Linked DNA regions of Homo sapiens: region 2 is linked to region 1. The links are contacts of gene promoters, found by promoter capture Hi-C in blood cells and fetal thymus (Javierre and others, 2016). All regions are on one chromosome and are shown on one strand. The core of a region is centred on a gene start or on the middle of the fragment in contact, and the rest is flanking DNA. Distances in the headings are between cores, read along the strand shown. Region 1 holds the start of CHMP1B (charged multivesicular body protein 1B). Region 2 holds the start of CEP76 (centrosomal protein 76).

Region 1 (7,419 bases), core at 2,838-5,337:
AGAAACATACTGATGAGAATCCAGAAATAGTTTAACTCACAAGAGAAAGTTATTTTTCACATCTTTTATTTTCTTTTTTTTTTTTTTGAGTGACTTCAGACTTAGCAAATGATTCTTTTCCAGTGAAGTAAAACTGAATGTCCTGCTTAAATATTTTCATTTTAACCACTTGTATTATTTCAAAGTAAGGAAAGAAATCAGCCAGATGTGCCAAATGATAGCATATTTTTCTTCCCCATTTCATGATAAAAATAATTAACTGGTTTGACCCGCAGCTTTCTAGAAATGTCTGCACTTTAATCAAAAATTTCTTTTTTTTTCACTAAGAAAATTTGGCTATGGGACTTGCAAGGTTTCAATGTTAACGTGGTAGTTGCTAAACAATTCCAGTCATTATAAACTGTATGTTCTGTTTTCACATCTGTATTGGGTCCAAAACATTTTCACGTACAATTAGCATGGTTGTAGGACCAAAACCTCCTTTAATAATAATCCCAAAATAATCTTCCTTTTGCTAGATACACAAAAAGAGAAAGCATACCAAGCTGAAACAGACCCTGAAGGTTGTCAACCTCAATGGAATATAAAGAATGGAAAAAACTTAGAGCCAGGGTAGATGCAGATTCAGATACCACGGTGGTCAGAGATAATTCTTCCAAATCCAACTCGAATGACAAGGTAGATGGAGGTGCCAGTAGTAAATGGGAATGAGCAGATTTGGGGGAAAGGACTGAGTTCAGTCACTTTGAGGAGTTGCCAATCAGTCTTGGGCCACAGAGCGCCCAGCACCAAGGAGACAGCTGGGCATATGGGTTTGGAGCTCAGAAGCAAATCTCTCCGTGGAAATGTGAACATGAGAGCAGTTAGCTATGGATCCTATTGAACACCGTGGAAATGGCTGGGGTGTTGATAAGAGAAAGAAGAGGGCAGGGCTGGGGAACTGTCAGGGAGAGGAGGAGAACAGCCTTCTCTTCAGAATTCTAGTCAGCCCTGGTCTCTCTGGGAAGATGGCTTCTGGAACTCCACCTATACCTTCTCTCCAGCACAGAAAGTAGAGGTGTCATCATCCAAGGAATGTAGCTTCAGGTGATGGCAACTTCTTTTAGCAACCATACTTTTTCTTTTTTTTTCTTTTCTTTTTTTTTTTTTGAGAAGGAGTCTCTCTCTGTCACCCAGGCTGTAGTGCACTGGCGTGATCTCAGCTCACTGCAACCTCCACCTTTCCAGTTCAAGCGATTCTCCTGTCTCAGCCTTCCAAGTGGCTGGGATTACAGGCATGCACCACCACACCCAGCTAATTTTTGTATTTTTAGTAGAGACGGGCTTTCCCCATGTTGGCCAGGCTGGTCTTGAACCCCTGGCCTCAAGCGATCCACCCACCTCAGCCCCCCAAAGTGCTAGGATTACATTCCTGAGCCACCATGCCCAGTCAACAACCACACTTTATAAAGTTCATATTAACTTTGCAGTCAATGCAACTCTGTCTTCTCAAAAAAACAGCTGGAAAGTCAACTTCTTTCTTTAGGCTACATGATGATCATTATTTTATTCTTATTAATTCATGTTCATTGGATTCCCCATTGCCTTATTACTGGTCCCAATACATCCATGGAATCCGGTTTCTAACACTTACCTAATGTGTGGGTTCAGGCAAGTTTCTTAGCTCTCTGTGCTTCCTTTTCATTACCTGTGAACTGGAGACATTTATAGTATCTACTTCATAGGGTTTGCGAAGCTGAAATGAGTTAATTTATGTAAAGTGCCCAGAACAATGTCTGGTGCATAAGTACTTTATTAATGTTAGTTGTCATTATCATCATCATCTATCGGAGTCTCTCATGATTATATTCCAAACCATCTCACCTAGTCAGAATTTGTCATTAAGAAAACTATGGGCTGGGCACGGTGGCCCACGCCTATAATCCCAGCACTTTGGAATGCCAAGGTGGGCAGATCAACTGAGGTCAGGAGTTCGAGGCCAGCCTGACCAACATGGCGAAACCCCAGCTGTACTGAAAATACAAAAATTAGCCGGTAGTGCTGGCGTGTGCCTGTAATCTCAGCTACTCGGGAGACTGAGGCAGGAGAATCGCGTGAACCCAGAAGGGGGAGGCTGCAGTGAGCCAAGATCACACTACTGCACTCCAGCCTGAGTGACAAAGCAAGATTTCATCTCAAAAAAAAAAAAAAAAAAAAGAAAGAAAAGAAAAAAGAAAACTATGGAGCATGACATGGAAGCTGGATAAGAAACTTGTTTGCAAACTCCAAGAAAAACCAGGACCTAAAAGAAGGGAAGAGTGGAATGGAGGGTGAGCAGAGTAGGGGGCCTAAGCTCTCTATATCCACTTTGAACAGATTTCTTCCCCTTTTTTTTGGTTGTTTATATTCCATTTCTAGAAAAGTTTCATTTGGAAAAAGGGTTCTACTGCTTTGCGGGGCAAAAAGGAACCATAGCTAAGCTGCTAACTAGGGTAACATCCTATCCCCTCTGAAATACAATTAAATTCAGCAACGCCATCTGGATTCAGTGGCTGCTGTGTGCAGAGCGCCTGCTGGGCTCCATGGAGAGGGGAAGGAATCAGTGTCTGCATCCAAGTAGTTCACACTGTAACAGGTGACCTATACACACAGACCCCTTGCCAGGCAATGTGCCCTGTAGTATGGCCACACAGAGGAGGAGTCCTGGGGAGGCTCCATGGTGAAGGTGGCTTTTGAAGGACTGGCAGGGTGTCAATAGGCAGAGATGCATGGACACTAAAATCCAGGCAACAGGAACAGCATAGCCACAGGACCGGGCGTCAGTCACATTCTCCCCGCTGGCCGAATGACGCAAATAATGCTCAAATTCCATGCTGCGGTTTGCTTTGACTGGCGGAGGTGGAGGGGCGCGAAAGACGAGCCAGCATGCTGCACAGCAGGTTTAGCCTCCATGCCCGGGGTTTGGAGCAAGAGAGTGAAAACATCAGAGCTATGTCTTCAGAAGGTCTTGTGTTGTGAAACTGACTGGCAAGCTATCACAGGAAGCTAAGCGAGGTGGCAGGCTGCTAGATTAAAATGATCTCTAAACAGAATTCGCTCTCAGAGTTCATTTTCAGCCTACCTCATTAGGGCAGATTTGGTCTTCTCACATTGTTATTGCTGTATCGGAGGAATCTTTCTAAAGAGAAAAGTGACAGCACACATTGCTGCCATTTGAAAGCCAGCATTTTTAAAGGGCGTAATACATAGTGACAGTTTTGATGTATGCCCGTGGGTGTGGGTCCTGATATCTCAACATACTCTGCCTGCATAATTTAAAATGACAGTTTAGCCTGTCAAACTTAAATGTGAGTGAAGTTCCTTGGATATTTATAAAACATCAAAAAGACAGAATGGTGTCAGCAAAAGATGGGTCTTTTTATTACTAAACCACGGGACGATTTTTGGATAATTGCTGGCAACTCACCTAGAAGCTGAACTTCCAGACAAAGTATAAATTTGGTGGTGCCACAGTTTTGAAGATTATTTTCACTCAATGCAATAAAAGGATATTACAGAACTCTAGCACAAATTGTAGTCAAAGATGGAGACGCGTCAATGACCCGTTTGTTTTTAATGTGTTTTAATGTTTTTGTTTTTAATGTATCCATGGTTTCCAGTTCCCCTGAGAAAGTGGAAATTACCCATGCTAATAAAGCAAGCGTTAGTGCGAAGACCTAGCTGATGTTTGGCTGGTTTTTAGCCCGCTAGCCAGTCACCCTTTATAAAGCCTGCCAAGTTTGGAGCGTGGGTAATTTTACACGCGGGTCTCCACAGATCCTGTCTACTTCGGTAGATTTATTACTAGGAAAGTGCGTGGGGGCACTAATTTTTGTGAATTGACTAATGCGTTAGAATTTTAAAAACCGGGTAGAACGCAGCGCAGGAAGCGAGCGTTCCCCGCCGCAGCGCCGGAGCGTCCAGCCAGAATCCCCCTGCATGCGCAGCCCCTGGCGTCTTACGTCCCACAGGCCCCACCCCGGCGCCTTCCGTCCCGCAGGCTCCGCCTTTGGCGCTGGGCTCTGACGTCACCACCTGCGCCGCTCACAGTAGAAACAGGAAGTGGGACCAAAACAAAGGAGCGGCGGCCGGGAGCGGACTTACCTTACCTTCTCTGCCTTCGGCGCGCTTCTCAGCCGGGCCGCCGACCCAAAGGAGCCGTCCGACTATGTCTAACATGGAGAAACACCTGTTCAACCTGAAGTTCGCGGCCAAAGAACTGAGTAGGAGTGCCAAAAAATGCGATAAGGAGGAAAAGGCCGAAAAGGCCAAAATTAAAAAGGCCATTCAGAAGGGCAACATGGAAGTTGCGAGGATACACGCCGAAAATGCCATCCGCCAGAAGAACCAGGCGGTGAATTTCTTGAGAATGAGTGCGCGAGTCGATGCAGTGGCTGCCAGGGTCCAGACGGCGGTGACGATGGGCAAGGTGACCAAGTCGATGGCTGGTGTGGTTAAGTCGATGGATGCGACATTGAAGACCATGAATCTGGAGAAGATTTCTGCTTTGATGGACAAATTCGAGCACCAGTTTGAGACTCTGGACGTCCAGACGCAGCAAATGGAAGACACGATGAGCAGCACGACGACGCTCACCACTCCCCAGAACCAAGTGGATATGCTGCTCCAGGAAATGGCAGATGAGGCGGGCCTCGACCTCAACATGGAGCTGCCGCAGGGCCAGACCGGCTCCGTGGGCACGAGCGTGGCTTCGGCGGAGCAGGATGAACTGTCTCAGAGACTGGCCCGCCTTCGGGATCAAGTGTGACGGCAGAACCCGCTCTGAGGTTTCCTGGCCATAGCCACCCTTTGAAATGCTCTCTGTGTGTTAGAGAGATACTATACCCTAGAAACTCTGAACACGCCAGAATGCTGAAATGCCCTTCTACCTTTGGGTTTACAGCCCCCTCCACATAAATTAAGAAATTCAGTATTTCTGCACTCTTAGCTGGATTCTAAAGTTCTGTATAGCTCGTAATGATGGTATTTTTATAGCAGCCTTTTAACAGAACTAGTTAATTTCGTGTATATGAATCTTTCTCGAAGATCTGGTCAAAACTGTATTCAGTTTCCTGCCCAGAATGATCAGATTGAAGGTGGTTGGTTTTTATTATTATTTAGTGTGATTGATAGTATCTAGAATGGCAGGTGGTGCATAAAAGTTAAAGAGAGGGGAAAGATTACTTAGTTTGGTTATACAGTTATAAACACCATGCAGTGTATTCGGTGGACTGTGCTATTTCTGTTTATCCTTTGGGTTTTGGTTTTTGTTTTTTTTTTTTTTGCCTTCACAGTGAGACTGCAAATGATTGTTCTCATAACGTATATTATTAATAAATGTGGTCCTATAATTTATACTGAAATTACCTTAGGATATTTTTGCATAATACTCTCTTACTGCTTACATTCTATAAATTTTTCACGTGATAATTGTCTTTGCGTAACTGGGAAAAATGCCGAATAACTTCCTTTATTATCTGGAAAAATTAAATTTGTTCATTTATATTTTCTACTTACTAAATTGAGTTTTTAAAAAGACTTAGTGTGACATTTGACAGTGTCTTTCAAACGAACTTCTCTAACAAGTTTATAGTTATTTTCCTGTTTCAACACTATTAGAAGTCTTATAAATTATGCTAATTAGCATGGCAGTCATGTTACACACTCTTAACATTGCCAAAGAACTGTTGATTTCGTTTGAGAAAACCCTAGGACTGTGTGTGTGTAGGTTTTGTTTTGATTTTAACAACCAAAAATAGAAATAAAATTAGAACTGCGTTTTAAGTTCTAATTTGCATTTATTAATTTGTCCAAAAGCAAGAACTCTTGGAAATCCTTGAAAATATAAGCTGGAATGTTTTACTTAGCCATGCAAGTCATTTATGTATACATCCAGCCAGCTGGAAATCTGAGAAGTAAAGAGGTAGGACTGGAAGGAAGGAGAAAGCTTGAGTCTTTAAGGCTAGAGCCCAGCTGTGCTGCCTGCCATCTTCTCAGGAATGGCAGTGCGTATTTTCTGGCTGAAAAGTAAAGCATGTATCCACCGCTTTCTCATAGCCTCGAAACATGGAGAAAAGCAACTTGCTTTTGCCTTGGCAAGCATGCTAACCTAAGTTAATTCAAGTTTTTTTTAACTTACCCTTTCCTTCACTGGAAGATTTTTCCATAAGAGAATTCCATTGTTTCAGAAAATAATTATAGGGGCCCTTCCAAGTTCTTTGAAAGATTCATAACCAACTATTCACTATTATAACATGTTTCCCAGTGTAAATGAGTAAGGAAAAAAAAAGTGTAACAGGTGCGTGCAGATGAGGAGTGACCCTCATATTTAAGTTATTTTATATTTGACTGGACATTGTTCAGAAGTGTGCTTTAAGGGACACTTGTTAGTTGTCTGCCCAGCATCTCTCAAGAATATCCCTCCTGTCCTCCACATGGTTGTGCAGGGCCATGTGTGAAGACAGCATGAGTCTTAACCCCTCTTTTATTTTATTTTTGAGACAGAGTCTCGCTCTGTTGCCCAGGCTGGAGTGCTGTGGCGCGATCTCTGCTCACTGCAACCTCCACCTCCCGGGTTCAAGTGATTCTCCTGCCTCAGCCTGCCGAGTAGCTGGAATTACAGGTGTGCACCACCATGCCCAGCTAGTTTTTTTGTATTTTTAGTAGAGACAGGGTTTCACTATGTTGGCCAGGCTGGTCTTGAACTCCTGACCTCAGGTGATCCGCCCACCTCAGCCTCCCAAAGTGCTGGGATTACAGGCATGAGCCACTGCACCTGGCCTTAACCCCTCTTTAGATTGGAAAAAATAATTACAACTTTAAAAATAGCTTAGTGTTGAACCCTTTGGTAAACTAAAGACCCTTTTATAATGCACATATTCCCAACAAAATTAATATATTTTGTGAGATTAAACAATGCTTGTATATGCTTGAACTTTCTTAAAATATGTCCATGTCATACTATTATGAATGTACATTTTTATGAGTCATAAATATTATTTTCAAAAGCACTACAGGCCCATGAATTACTTCCTCACTTTTGCAGTTGATTACTGAAATGTAAATCACAAGAATTTGTCAATTAAATCATTTTAAACTGCATGTTATTGGATGTGAGTGTGCATCCTGTTTTAAAAAACACTTAAGAAAAAAGAATTGCGGGGCACAGTGGCTCACGCCTGTAATCCCAGCACTTTGGGAGGCTGAGGTGGGCAGATCACCTGAGGTCAGGAGTTTGAGACTAGCCTGACCAACATGGAGAAACCCCGCCTCTACTAAAAATATGAAATTAGCTGGGCGTGGTGCTGCACACCTGTAATCTCAGCTACTCAGGAGGCTGAGGCAGGAGAATTGCTTGAACCTGGGAGGCGGAGGTTGAGGTGAGCCAAGATTGCGCCATTG
Region 2 (7,419 bases), core at 2,977-5,476, 850 kb after region 1:
ATTTTCAATCCATGCCTGGATTTAAAGAACTAGAAAACAAATATACTTCACATCAAAACGATTTAATGTTTCTTCAGTGAATCAGAATCTGCTTGTTTCCAGGTCACTGCTACGATTATCATGTTAGGCCTATTTTTGAAGACAAATTGGGTATTGTTTTTGAAAATAAATTTCTTACATAAAGGACACTTTTTCTATAATTTTTATTTAAAGAAAAATACATTCTTGGTATGACTTATTAAAATCTAAATTACTGGCTGGGCGCGGTGACTCACGCCAATATCCCAGCACTTTGGGAGGCCGAGGCGGGCAGATCACGAGGTCAAGAGATCGAGACCATCCCGGCCAACATGGTGAAACCCCATCTCTACTAAAAATACAAAAATTAGCTGGGTGTGGTGGTGCATGCCTGTAGTCCCAGCTACTTAGCAGGCTGAGCCAGTATAATCGCTTGAACCCAGGAGGCGGGGGTTGCAGTGAGCCGAGATTGCAGCACTGCACTCCAGCCTGGTGACAGAGCGAGACTCCATCTCAAATAATAATAATAATAATAATAATCTAAATTACTAAGGCTATGCTGTCCACTGGCAAGGTTTAACTCTGTGACTAAGTTTAAAAACCAAAGTAATTCCATTATATGTTATAGATAAAACATTGGTAGGTTTTGTTTTCTCATTTTATTAGCAAGTATGTGTTACATAGCGGGCAGTGTGCAAGATTCCAAGGAGACTATGATAAATAAGATAGGCACCAGCTCTGCCCTCAAGGACTAGTTGATACTAACACTGAGCAAATTATTTCCTCTTCCGAGTCTCACTCACCCACACTGTAAAAGGTTGGGAGAACATCTACTCTGTATTTTGCAAGAATCACTGGTACCAAAGGGGATGTATTCCAGGGTGTGATGACTGGACACACATAAGTTTGTATGTGTGTCAAGAATATTAATTTTCTTTATAGCCTTATATTTAATCAAATGAACTTGAAATTAAAACCCTCAAAATTCCTGTATTCATTTTCCAGAAAAAAACATTTCTCCTAAGACAAGGTCAGATTGACCATGAAGTGCTATACTGATATTATTCTTCAAGACATTTCTCAAGATTAGGATGCTGAGGTCCAATTGTAACTCTAACGAAATTCTATTTTACAGGTTTCCCTCTTGGATTATAAAAGCATTTTAAAGATATAAAATATATTTACAAATGAACTGTGGCTATAAAAAGGTTAACAATGATATATTAATCACCATACCTACACCCATAAGTTCCACAGTCAGACTGGTCACTCCATTTTCTGAGCCCAAAACCGATCGCCATTCCAGAAAATATGATGCTACTAAAGTCGTCTCACCAAATATGTCTGTTTTGATTAGCACCATATGAATTGGATCACTTATTGATAACATTGTTGTTGAATCAGCCATTCTAGTTCCATCACCTAGCAATATAATCCAAACGAAATTATACCACACTACATATTCAGTTAGGCCAACATAAAAGAATACTTTTATTAAACAGTAAATAATAAGCTTATATAAAACCAAAGAGAACAATTTGCTAATGTCTCAGAAAGCATGCAAAAAACTGGAAATACAAGTACAGTCCTATTTCTATCACTAACTTTTCAGAAGACTGGCAAATTGTGATGAGTTATCCAGTAACTTACAGCATATCAGTGCTTTCTGATTCATAAGATAAGTCTGTTCTTTAAAAGTACTTAACTAAAGTATATGCTACTACAATAAAAAGCCTTCAAGTATGTCAATATTAATCCCCAAACTACCTCAAGAAATCCCTTTAACCTCCAGAAATTATCACTGTATAATTGACATACAACTGAAAAATACAGCACATCGAATCTAGCAATTTATCCTATTAATTGCCTTATTAAGGTAACATCTTTCAAAGGGAAAAAAATAAATTTTAGTAATGTTTCAGTCATCTTTAAATCTAAAATTGTGAAGACATTCTGAAACTTTGCTTAGTTTACAAATATAAAGATTTCCATACTGACAATTACAAAATACAAAATACCTTTACTGAAAGAAACATAGTGTAAAACAATTACAGGAATCAAGTAGCATAAAATTTAGTTATGAGAATTACATGCTTTATTGGAGAAATAAGAAAAAAAAGAAAAAATTAAAATGACAGTTATATGTTCACATCTAAATTTGACTTTTTATTTTATTTATATTTATTTGTAAGTATTTATAAAAATTTATTAGAAGTTTTTATAAATAATTTATAAATATTTATTCATTTATTTATTTATTTAAACAGAGTCTCACTCTGTTGCCCAGGCTGGAGTGCAATGGGGTGATCTCGGCTCATTACACGCGCCTGCCACCATGCCCGGCTAGAAATTTTGTATTTCTAGTAGAGACAGGGTTTCGACATGTTGGCTAGGCTGGTCTCAAACTCCTGACCTCAGGTGACCCACCTGCCTTGGCCTCCCAAAGTGCTGGGATTACAGGCATGAGCCACCACACCCAGCCTATTTTTTATTTTTTGTAGAGACAATGTCTCACTTTGCCCAGACTTGTCTTGAACTCCTGGCTTCAAATGATTCTCTCACCTAGACCTCCCAAAGTGTTGGGATTTCAGCTGTGAGTCACCGTGCTCAGCCTAAACTTCGACTTTTAAAAGTTACATAACATCATCAATCTGGTTATATTTTATAAATGAGAAGGACCATGTCTCATTTTCCACTATATCATCCCAGCACCTGCCTAGCATAACACTATGCACATAATAGGTATTTAAGTGTGTATTACTAAAGAATCAACAATGAAAACAGTCAAAAAATAATATCCAGGGAAAATGAATAGCAAACAGAATATTGCAAGAAGGTGGATAGTAGTTTAAATTGAAAAGAGCAGTGGGAAACAAAATAGAGATTCCTCCATTATAAATCTCTCCTTACAGAAAAAGTCATTATTATTGTTTCACAATAAAACATAACAAAGATTTACTCAATTAAATGACAATTTATTACTGTTTCTTACCCAAGCTTTCTCTGTGTACTTCAAGTAAAAAGCCATCATGAAAATCTGGTTCACAGGCACATGGAACAGGTTTAGAACGAAAACGTTGGTTTCGATAATGTAAACATAAAGTAAACGTTGAACAAACTTGTCCAGGTAAAGGCTCAGGTTCTTGCAGATGTTCCAAGAAAGCTTTTCCACCCAAAACCTGAAGGTAAAGATACCTCCGTGTTGGATCAATATTAGCTGTAAAGTGTAGCAATATATATGAGGAAACTGCCAAATAACTTAAAAGAATGTGATCAAGACATTAGGAAATAAAAACTTGACAGATAAAAACCCAATACCAAAGACTAAAAAAAAAGCAAAAGAGTAACAAATTTATTACTGTATATGCCAGAATCATTTGCACTCTGGGGAGAAGATACACAAAATATGATATTCTTTTCTGAGTTTACATCCAGGCTACTTTCTCCCAGCTGGAAAAGGCATCAGAGCCAATATGTAGTATACTTTTGCTTTTTAACTGCTTATCCAACATTCCTCCACCTTCACAAACCAACTCATATAATTATCAATTCAGCAAGTGTATTTGTCAATTATATTAATATTTAAAAGCAAGGCTGTACAGTTTTTATAAAACATATTATTAAAACACAAGAAACTGGTGATGCTGTTTTTGCTTCTACCGTGCTATACATTAACTCTTCTGATATACTTCATGCAAAACAATCTGTTTTAGCCAACCATAAAATTTTAAGTATTTTATTTTGGGGGGAAAAAATGGAAATGTCTTCTATCAAATACGAAAGACTACACCACATCAATATTTACTATTAACCACAACTAAATTAATGTTAAAATATACATACTTTTTTTTAATGTCGATTGTCTATCAAAACAAATAGGTTGTTTTGGAGAGGAAGGGAGTTCTTGCTCAACACTGTCCTAGAAAGGCAGGAAAAAAAAATCAAAACAAATTAGAAAACAATTATAGGTTAAGGAAATGTCAATAAACATGACTAAGCACTGAACCTAAAGTCAACAGGGTAAGGCCCTTTCAAAGAACCCCTTATTTTCCTAGCCTAATTAAAATAATGAAAATAAAAGCCTGCATAAAAGATGATGTAAACTGATCACTCCTAAAATCAAATGCTAAGGAATTAAACTGTCTTCAAGTAATACTATCCACATAAAGCTAAAAACAAATCCTTAATACCTTCAACAAGGTTAAACTTTCTGTAAACCTTATGTAACAGTTGGCTTATAATTCCACTATGAGCTGATTTTAATAAAGTGTCATCACAGAGTAGAAGCTGTTATTAGGTCAATTTTTATAACAAACGGGTTCATAAACTTCAAAAACCAAAAAAAGGTGCTGTATTAAAATACTTATTCCCTATTGTATTATGAAGTCCATCCAATTTTCACATTATATTACCCAGGTATTGAGGTCACAGTTTCCATTATTGCCTCACTTTCAAATGAAGGCCTACTTACTAATTGTGCACTGAGAGACTATCATCCCATTATTGACCTATTTGTATTAAAAGATTTGAGGACTCTTATGCAGTCAATTATTTTCTTAAAGAAATTTGTAATTTGTTAATCATAGAGAATATAATCCCAAAAGAGTGCTTATTTTAAAAATACGCTTAATCTAAAAAAGTTACAGATCATAATGAAAAAGAACTTTGTTATGGTGAACTAATTGGACTAAAGTATGTATATTCAAATTTACAGACCTAGAAAATAAGAGAAAATTCTGTCACTGTAGAGACAGGAATAAGATATCTAACACAAATTTCATTGATACACAAAACTATTCAGTATATTCAAGGGCAGAGCTAGCCTATACTTGAAACAAGGACACTAGTAAACAGAATGACCTTGAAGTGGTTTTACTAAAACGAAAGGCCCCACATCGGAACCTTATAAGTAGTGTTACGCATTAGTATATACATATATACTCTCATTTATTTCCCTAAAAGATTACTCACAGTAACAAAATTAAGTTCTTTCATCACATCGTCAATGATTCCTCGACGTCTAAGGGCTTTGATCAAATCTTCTGTTGATAAATGCTGTTGATCAGGTGCCAATTCTTCCCGTATAGTCTCAGCAAGGATTTCTCTTATTCTACCATGGACATCCATCTATGTAGAAAACTCATATTACAATTTATAACATCACAAAGCAGTCAAATACTGCTTCTGAAGTTTTAAGGTTCTCCAGCTAACAGTAAATGCACAATTGTTACCACAATTGAATGGGAACAAAGGTAAGCTTTTAAAGAATGAATCTTTTGAGTACAAATTCTAGAAATAGTCTCCACTGGTTATCTGGCACCTTTGTTACCATTTCTCCACAAACAACACTCAACCAAAAGGAATCTTCTGAGAGGGAGTATAGTATAATCAGAAGAACACGGACTGGGAGTAGGCAGATCAAAGTATGATCTTATTACTTTCATACTTTGATCTGCCTAATGATAAGGGAATCTTACCAGCTTTCAACTTAGTAGATGTGTAACCTCAAGCCAACTTATTTACCCTTTATAAATCTGTTTCGTCACCGATAAGAATGGAAAAACCTAGTGTAGTGCCCTCTCACGATAGTGTTGTGAGGATTAAAGATACTAGACAGCACAAAGCCTGGCACACAAGGGCACCATAAATGGTCGCTTTTATCACTTCAGCATCTTGCACTCAGTCGAGCGAGCGCTGCAGAAACTGGAGGTTCTTCTGGAGCTCCGAAATATTAACAAATTCCGTCATTACAAACCCTTTAGTAACTTCTCTTCCATGACTTATTTGAGAATTGCTGATTGAAGCTCCTGGTTCAACTTCGCTGATACCCACATGTTTCAGCGGTAAAGAAACCCTGATATCTGCCGGGCGCGGAGGCTCACGCCTGTAATCCCAGCACTTTAGGAGGCCGAGGCGGCCGGATCACGAAGTCAGGAGTTCGGGACCAGCCACACCAACATGGTGAAACCGTCTCTACTAAAAATACAAAAATTAGCCGAGCGTGGTGGCGCGCGCCTGTAATCCCAGCTACTCGGGAGGCTGAGGCGGAGAATCGCTTAAACCTGGGAGGCGGAGGTTGCAGTGAGCCGAGATCGTGCCACTGCACTCCAGCCTGGGCAACAGAGAGACTCCGTCTCAAGAAAGAAAAAAAACCTGATATCTTACAGCAGAATATAAACCTCCAAATACAACTTACACTCGATCCGACTTCCAGAAGTCGCTCGCTAAGCGCTTCATTCTCACGGCCGTCCTAAAACGCCAAGACCGCTCGTTCTATCGCCCCAGACTCTTGCTAGCACCTGCTCGGCTCGTTTTCTTTCTCGGAGACGAGGACGCTCTCCTGCCTCAAACTCAAAGCTCTGCCTACTCTGCGTTGCGCACCCCACAATCCTCGCTACAGTCCCGGCAAGCAGATGCCGCTGTCGGCCCGGGGCCGCCGGGCAGGAGGGAAAGGTTATGGGTCGGCCCGGCGGTCTCTCCCAGCACCCGCGACTCTCACCTTGCTCAGCTGCTGGTGGATGAGCTGCTTCAGCTCGGAGGCTTTCTCCGGAGGCAGCGACATGCTGGCAGCCGGCGTCTCCCCGCCGCTTCTCCCCGCCTCAGATGCCCTAACTGCGCGGCCCCGGCCGGGCCAGGGAGCGTTAGGAGCGACTGGAGCACAAAGCGCCGCAGCCGTTCGCCTAGCGCAGCTCCCGGGGGACGCAACGCCGCGTCAGGCCGGGGGCTGACCTGGAAATGAGGCCCCGGCGGCGGCGGCGCCAACTGTTTTCAAACAGTGGCGGACAAACAGGGCTTGGGGCTGGCCCGCACGCTGCCTGATCGTTTCCGCCCGCCGCTCCACCTCCCCGCGGGCCCCGCACCCCGAGACCTCAGCGCACCCCATCGCCTTGCTTGCCAGGGTCTCCGAAAGCGCTGCTGGCCCCTCTTCGCGGCCACCCGGCGGCCTCTTTCCGCCCTCTGAACCGGCAGTTAGCTGGACGGGCCTCAAGGGCCCGGCGCCCAGGGACTCAAAGGACCCTCCCGCGCCCCGCGAGGCTCCGGGGTCTCGGGCTTCCGCCTTCTTGCTGCCCTCGTTCTTGCCAGGGCCGCGGTTAGTCCCTGCTGGCCACCCCACTGCGACCATGTTCGTTCCCTGCGGGGAGTCGGCCCCCGACCTTGCCGGCTTCACCCTCCTAATGGTGAGTCTCCATTTGCGCTCGGGGCTGCCGCCTCCCGAGGCCCCTGCGGTGTCGCCACCCCGACGCGGGGTGTTTGGCGGTGCCTTGGGAGAAATAGGGCACTAGTTTCTATTTCATGTTTTCGGCCGGAAAAAACAGGGAGGTTGTAGCCGGAGGCAGCCGTCCAAACAGAACCTTTGTCGGCTGTAAAACCAAACGTAGTCAAGTCTACAATTTGTAGTCT

The links. Contacts are between HindIII fragments. The CHiCAGO score rates a contact against its expected background, and 5 or more counts as called.
Region 2: a fragment that was not itself captured here is called in contact with the fragment with the promoter of CHMP1B in region 1 in 1 of 17 cell types (naive CD8 T cells); the score reaches 5.2 in naive CD8 T cells.

What each region holds. Positions count from the first base shown.
Region 1 is chr18:11,847,326-11,854,744 of GRCh38, forward strand. CHMP1B (charged multivesicular body protein 1B) reads left to right here and starts at 4,088. Exons shown (of 1, transcript NM_020412.5): 1 at 4,088-7,119. The coding sequence starts at 4,187. The coding sequence ends at 4,786. All of the region lies in intron 5 of GNAL (G protein subunit alpha L), which reads left to right. RefSeq lists enhancers at 3,941-4,180, 4,449-4,498 and a silencer at 4,505-4,799. The HindIII fragment of the contact is 8,099 bases long and covers 1-5,963 here.
Region 2 is chr18:12,695,969-12,703,387 of GRCh38, forward strand. CEP76 (centrosomal protein 76) reads right to left here and starts at 6,755. Exons shown (of 12, transcript NM_024899.4): 1 at 6,518-6,755; 2 at 4,990-5,145; 3 at 3,862-3,937; 4 at 3,011-3,235; 5 at 1,255-1,440. The coding sequence starts at 6,580. It overlaps PSMG2 (proteasome assembly chaperone 2), which reads left to right and starts at 7,074. Exons shown (of 7, transcript NM_020232.5): 1 at 7,074-7,196. The coding sequence starts at 7,140. RefSeq lists enhancers at 5,900-6,797, 6,083-6,382, 6,393-6,442. The HindIII fragment of the contact is 2,094 bases long and covers 3,180-5,273 here.